Linked DNA regions of Homo sapiens: region 2 is linked to region 1. Evidence: promoter capture Hi-C in 16 types of primary human blood cells and fetal thymus (Javierre and others, 2016). All regions are on one chromosome and are shown on one strand. The core of a region is centred on a gene start or on the middle of the fragment in contact, and the rest is flanking DNA. Distances in the headings are between cores, read along the strand shown. Region 1 holds the start of FLACC1 (flagellum associated containing coiled-coil domains 1). Region 2 has its middle 10 kb from the start of CASP8.

Evidence for each region. The method cuts DNA at HindIII sites, captures the fragments that hold promoters and counts their contacts. A CHiCAGO score of 5 or more calls a contact.
Region 2: a contact is called between a fragment that was not itself captured here and the fragment with the promoter of FLACC1 in region 1, in 1 of 17 cell types (endothelial precursors). The highest score is 5.8, in endothelial precursors.

The regions. Positions count from the first base shown.
Region 1 is chr2:201,355,254-201,358,974 of GRCh38, forward strand. FLACC1 (flagellum associated containing coiled-coil domains 1) reads right to left here and starts at 2,092. Exons shown (of 15, transcript NM_001127391.3): 1 at 1,729-2,092. The HindIII fragment of the contact is 10,294 bases long and covers 1-3,721 here.
Region 2 is chr2:201,248,763-201,252,311 of GRCh38, forward strand. It overlaps a transcript of CASP8 not described here. Among named protein-coding and RNA genes, the nearest start is that of CASP8, 10 kb to the right of the region's middle. The HindIII fragment of the contact is 1,795 bases long and covers 1,359-3,153 here.

The DNA of each region.
Region 1 (3,721 bases), core at 842-3,341:
CAGCCTGGATGACAGAACAAGACTCTGTCTCAATAAATAAATGAATAAAACAAAAAACAAAAACAAAGAGAAAAGAGATTCACAGATGAAACTGCCAAAATGTTGTAATCGTCATTACCATATTATAAATAACATTAAACATTTGCATTCAAAAGCCAGAAAGCAGAGGTAAATTGTATGGGTGATACAATCACTCAGTGGAGTTTTACATAGATTTTCAATGATCTTTGATGAATGTGTAGTTGTTTCCTTTTCCTCTTTCCCATGATAAACAATGTCTTGGTATATATTCTTTTGCTCTTAAGAAAAAAAAAAAAGAAGGCCTCACAGGTGTGGTGGCACATGTCTGTAATCCCAACACTTTGAGAGACTGAGGTGGGAGAGTCGCTTGAGGCTAGGAGTTTGAGACCAGCCTGGGAAACATATCGAGACTCTGTATCTACAAAAAATTTTAAAAATAGCCTAGTATGGTGGAGTGTGCCTGTAGTCCCAGCCACTTGGCAGGTGGTGCGGGAGGATCACTTGAGGCCAGGAGTTTGAAGTTGCAGTGAGCTAGGACCACACCACTGCATTTCAGCCTGGGTGACAGCACAAGACCCTGTCTCTAAAAAATAAATAAATAAATAAAATAAAAATAAAGGCCTTTTTCTTTGAACACCCATGGGAGTGATACTCAAAATATTTAACAACCAGTAAGACAAGGCTATTGAATAATCAACCAGGGTTGGAACAGGGTCCTGGGAGATCTCACTCCCACCTCCATGCCAGGCATTAACCCCTTAGTTGCTGAATCATGAGGTGGTCTGGGGGTGCCAGGGGAGGAGTTGGGACAACCAAGGTGGCAAGGAGGACATGCAAGGGGCTTGGACAATGGTCATCTACCAATCAATATGACAGTATTTTATTTATTATTATTATTGTTTTGAGACGGAGTTTTGCTCTTGTTGCCTAGGCTGGAGTGCAATGGTGTGGTCTTGGCTCACTGCAACCTCTACCTCCGAGGTTCAAGCGATTCTCCTGCCTCAGCTTCCCCAGTAGCTGGAATTACAGGCACCCGCCACCATGCCTGGCTAATTTTTGTATTTTTATAACGATGGGGTTTCACCATATTGGCCAGGCTGGTCTCAAACTCCTGACTTCAGGTGATCCACCCATCTCAGCCTCCCAAAGTGCTGGGATTACAGGTGTGAGCTACCGTGCCCTGCCTATATGGCAGTATTTTAATATTTCAGTAGCTAAAATCAGCCCTTGACTTCTCATAGCTTCTTAAGTGGGAACTACTTCTAACAGATTTTTGGGGCATCCTTCCAGAAATGTTGTGAGTGCATATAACCTTAAATGTTTTGCATATAGAACTTAACCTGTAGAGAAGCATAATAGATTTTTTAAATTATTTGCATAAGTGAGAGCATACTTTGCACACAATGTTGCATCTTGTTCTTTTTGTGTAACAGGATATCTAGTTGATATTTCCATGTCATCACAGATAGATCTGCATTTACAGTGGCTTGACATCATATAGCTCTAATTATAGAGGGGTGTGTGAGTGTGTGTAAGGATTTTTTCTCCCCCTTTTTTCCCTTTCCTGCACTTCTACCTGATGATTTTACCTGAGGCTTGCCCTAACAATAGTCACCAGTGAGCCGGCAGAGGCTTCAGAGAAGTTACTGGTTAGTATTAATAATCAGTAGAAAAAATAATATAAAACATCTTTTCCAAAGAGCTTACCTTGGACTGCCCAAAGATCTGTTATTCTCATGTGGCCCAAGTCAAACATCTTAAAGAAACCACCATGTTAGAGAGAAATGGTTCCCCATCAACACAGAATCAGAGTTTACTTTAGATCAAAAGCCACTTTAGTGGCCATTCCAAGTGGTTGAAATGCCGAAGGAGAAAATTCACAGTATATGTACTGCGGGAAGACAGACTTCTAGTGAATCCAATCAAAGGCTTTTACAAAGGCTGGCCTGGCACAAACATGAATTTCCCTTCTAAAGACAAAACAGTTGAAGTTTCTCAGTATTGCAATGAAATTAAACTAGAGGAGAAGGTCACCCCACCATTCAGATTCCTGTGACTTGGGCCTGAGTTGTGAGGTTTGCCCTTGGGAGATGGCAGGCCAAAGTTTGTTTATTTTGTTGCTATGGACACAGAACAGTAGCTCCTCATTGGCTCAGGGCTCTTTTCTTCAAGAGAGAAGGTTGGGAGAAACAGCCAATTAAATTCTCCAAGACACAAATCAGTGACCACCCTCAACAGCAAAGAATTCATACTTTTAACACTGGATTTCCACTTTCGTCATCAGTCATGGGACAAAAAAGTTTAAGATATATCTTCAGAGGAAATAGAATTCAACAGCACTTTTAGGCTTCATTGGTCTATGGCAATAGTTACCAGGCAGGATCTGTGATGGATTTTTAATTCCTCTGTGATCTACTCACAGAAACCTAAAACTCTAGACACTTTTTTCCCTCGAGTTTAAGGCTTTGAAATCTGTGAAAGTAAAAATCCCCCAAGGCAGGAATCTTTTGCAGTCACAAGGTTTTCCGATTTTTTTTTTTAAATAAAGCTGCTTTTTCTTACTATAGAAAAAAGTACTTGCTTATTACAACCCAGTGGCTTTCATTTTAGTTTTACTGCCACTCATTATAAGAAATACATTTTACAAATTTTGTAATAAAAAAATTTCATGAAATAATACTCTTATTATTTGCTATTCTCTTCTATTTCTTTTTCTTCTTTAAATTAAAGCTGATTATAATCCACTAGATTGATTTCATGATCCTGGTGGGTCACAACCCCTAGCTTACAAAATATTGTTATAAATTCATCTATTCACTCAACTTCACATTTGTTGTCTACTGTGTGCCAGGCACTATTGCTAGGTGTGGGGATATACCTCAGTTCTTATACTCAATACAACTTAGAGACCAATGAGAAAACAGACAATAAAAAAGCTCAATAAAAGCATAATTAATTTTTTTTTCCTTTGAGACAGTAGCTCACTCTGTTACCCAGGCTGCGGTGCAGTGGCAGTGGCAGTGCAGGCTGCATGCATAGCTCACTGCAGCCTTGACCTCCTGGACTCAAGCGATCCTTCTGCCTCAGACTCCCAAGTAGATGGGACTACACAGGTGCACAGCACCATGCCCAGCTAATTTTTTTTTTTTTTTTTTTTTTTGAGACGGAGTCTCGCTCTGTCACCCAGGCTGGAGTGCAGTGGCGGGATCTCGGCTCACTGCAAGCTCCGCCTCCCGGGTTCACGCCATTCTCCTGCCTCAGCCTCCCAAGTAGCTGGGACTACAGGCGCCCGCCACTACGCCCGGCTAATTTTTTTGTATTTTTAGTAGAGACGGGGTTTCACCGTTTTAGCCGGGATGGTCTCGATCTCCTGACCTCGTGATCCGCCCGCCTCGGCCTCCCAAAGTGCTGGGATTACAGGCGTGAGCCACTGCGCCCGGCCGCCCAGCTAATTTTTTTGACTTTTAGTATACATGAGGCCTTGCTATGTTGTCCAGGCTGGTCTTGTACTCCTGAATTCAAGTGATCCTCCTGCTTCGGCCTCCCAAAGTGCTGGGATTACAGGTGTAAGTCACCATGCAGCCACAATGACTCATATTGAGACTTGCCAGAAGCAGTGGGAGTTCATAGCAGGAGTTACTCTTCTAGTCCAGTGAGTCAGGCAGCAGTGTTAAACAGAGAAGAGATCTGACTAGATCTA
Region 2 (3,549 bases), core at 1,006-3,505, 110 kb before region 1:
AAGCTCTTAATTCTAAAATGGTCCTGTTGGTGGTTTTTTCCCCTTATGGTCAGCACTTTTTGTGTCCTTTTTGAGTTTTTGTCTACTCCAATATCATAAAGACATTCTCTTAGGATTTCTCATAAAGTTTTACTGCTTCCTTCTTTTTTGAGAGAGTCTTACTCTGTTGCCCAGGCTGGAGTGCAGTGCTGCGATCTTGGCTCACTACAACCTCTGCCTCCTGGGTTCAAGCAATTCTCATGACTCAGCCTCCTGAGTAGCTGGGACTACAGGTGCCCCCCACCATGCCCAGCCAATTTTTGTATTTTTAGTAGAGGTGGGGGTCTTGCCATGTTGGTCAGGCTAGTCTTCAACTCCTGACCTCAGGTGATCCACCTGCCTTGGCCTCCCAAAGTGCTGGGATTATAGGTGTGAGCCACCACGCCCTGGTCAATTGCTTCCTTTTTATATTTAGATTGACTATCCATCTGGATTTGAATTTTGTGTGGGTAGGAAATCAAGGCTCATTTTATTTTTATATGGCTATCTTGTTGATCTGTCGTTATTTACTATAAAGACGATCCTTTTTTCACTTCACCTCATTGTCACCTTTACCCATGTATCAAGTGAGAATAGAGTGTGAGACTTTAAAAAATTAATGGATTATTTTTTAAGAACAGTTTCAGGTTTAGAGAAAAAACAGAGCAGATTAGCTGGGCATGGTGGTATGCACCTGTAGTCCCAGCTTATTCATATGCTTATTTGCCATCTGCGTATCTTTTTGTGAGGTGTCTGTTCAGACCTCTTGCCCACTTTTCAATCGGGTTGTTTTCTTATTGTTGAGTCTTAACAGATTAGCTTAATCAGATTGGCTTCGGGAGGCTAAGGCGAGAGGATCGCTTGAGCGCGGGAGGCGGAGGTTGCAGTGAGTTGAGATCACACCACTGCACTCTAGCCTAGGTGACAGAGAGAGACCCTGTCTCAGAAAGAAAAAAAAAGAAAGAGCAGAAAGTAGAGAGTTCCCATATACCCTCTGCCTCCTACACTTCTCCCCTCCCCACACTTTCCCGTTATTAACATCTTGCATTAGTGTGGTACATTTGTTACAAGTGATGAACCAATATTGATATTGTAGGGGAGGGCAAATCTGTTTTCCTTCTACCCTTCTAAGTTCATGGCTGAGAACCCTATAACAGAAGACAGATTAATAAGAGAAAAGTGCATAAACATATTTAAGTTTTATGTGACATGGAAGCCTTTATAAGGAAATGAAGACTCCAAGAAGCAGTTACAGTTTGATGTAGGTTTGATAAAGGGTGGACAGTTGTGGAGGATATGATAGAGCAAAGAGTTTGAAGTAAGTGTAGTCCGCTGGCAGAAGCTTATCAAGGCCCGTTTGTTTAGTTAGATTCCTCTCTGTGTCCCTTTGTCTTCACAGATACCACCAGGTATAGGGAGGGCATCTCTCACCTGAGGGTCTTATGACCTGGCTTCAGGAGAAGGTCAGAAAACCCTTCCTGCACATGCTGCTTTTGCAAATTCCTTCACCTTAAAATATTCAATATGTCATTGTGTTAGTCTGTTCTTGCATTGCTCTAAAGAGATACCTGAGGTTGGGCAATCTATAAAGAAAAGAGTTTTAATTGGCTCATGGTTCCACAGACTGTATAGGAAGCATGATGCTGGCATCTGCTTGGCTTCTGGGGAGGCCTCAGGAAACTTACAATTATGGTGGAAGACAAAGGGGGAGCGAGACATCTCATGTGGCTAGAGCAGGGGAAGCAAGAGAGCGGGGAGGTGCCACATATTTTTAAACAACCAGAATATCATGAGAATTCTATCATGCAAACAGCACTGTGGGGATGGTGCTAAACTATTAGAAACCACCCCCAAGATCCAATCACCTCCCACCAGGCTCCGCCTCCAACATTAGGAATTACAACTGGACATGAGTTTGGGTGAGGACACAAATCCAAACCATGTCAGTCGTGGTGCCATATTTTGTGGTAGCACGTCCTGAATCCCATCAATAAATTATTCTGAACTAAAGTTCCATAGTTTCCATTAGGGTTCACTTTTGGTGTACATCCTACCGGTTTTGCCAAATGAATAATGCCATGTAGAACCGTTACAATATTGTACAGAATAATTTCACTCCCCTAAAAATCCCCTGTGCTGAACCTATTCACACTTCCTCCCCTGAGTCCCTGGCAACCACTGTCTCTATAGTTTTAATCAGAATGTCACATAGTTGGAATCATACAGTATGTAGCCTCTCCAGATTGCCTTCTTTCACATAGTAACATTCAATTAAGGCTCTTCCATGCCTTTGCGTGGTTTGATAGCTCATTTCTTTTTATTGCTGAATAATAATCTATGGTATGGATGTGCCACAGTTTATCCATTCATTTATTGAGGGACATCTTGGTTGCTTCCAACTTTTGGCAGTTATGAATTATGAATAAAGCTGGTATAAACATTCATGTGCAGGTTTTTGCATGGACATAAATGTTCAATTTGGGTAAATATCTAGAAACGTGATTGCTGGATCTTGCGGTAAGCATATGCTTTGGCCAGGCGCGGTGGCTCATGACTGTGATCCCAGCACTTTGGGAGGCTGAGGTGGGATCACCTGAGATCAGCAGTTTAAGACCAGTCTGGCTAACACAGTGAAACCTCATCTCTACTAAAAAAAATACAAAAATTAGCTGGGCGTGGTGGCGTGTGCCTGTAATCCCAGCTACTCAGGAAGCTGAGGCAGGAGAATCGCTTGAACCTGGGAGGTGGAGGTTGCATTGAGCCAAGATGGCGCCACTGCACTCCAGCCTGGGCAATAGAGTGAGACTCTGTGTCAAAAAAAAAAAAAAAGAAAAAAAAATGGCCAGGCGCAGTGGCTCACACCTGTAATCTCAGCACTTTGGGAGGCGGAGGCAGGTGTATTATTTGAAGTCAGGAGTTTAACACCAGCCCGACCAACATGGTGAAACCCTGTCTCTACTAAAAATACAAAAATTAGCTGGGCGTGGTGGTCATGCCGGTAATCCCAGCAACTTGGGAGGCTGAGGCAGGAGAATCGCTTGAACCCAGAGGCAGAGGCTGTAGTGAGCCAAGATCACACTTGCCGTTGCACTCCAGCCTGGGAGACAGAGTGAGACTCCGTCTAAAAAAAAAAAAAGCTTCATGACAAACTTCCAGACTTTCTTCCAAAGTGTCCGTATGAGTTTTCATTCCCACGAGTAATGAATGAGAGTTCCTGTTACTTCACATCCTTGCCAATGTTTGGTGGTGTCAGTGTTTCGGATTTTAGCAATTTTGGCAAATATGTAGTGGTATCTCACTGTTGTTTTAATTTGCAATTCCCTAATGACATATGATGTTGAACATCTTTTCATATGCTTATTTGCCATCTGTATATGTTTTTGGTGAGGTATCTGTTCAGATCTCTTGCCCACTTTTCAATTGGGTTGTTTGTTTTGTTATTGTTGAGTGTCAAGAGTTCTTTGTATATTTTTGGATAACAGCATGGTTTTTGTTTTTGTTTTTGTTTTTTTTTGAGACAGAGTCTCGCTC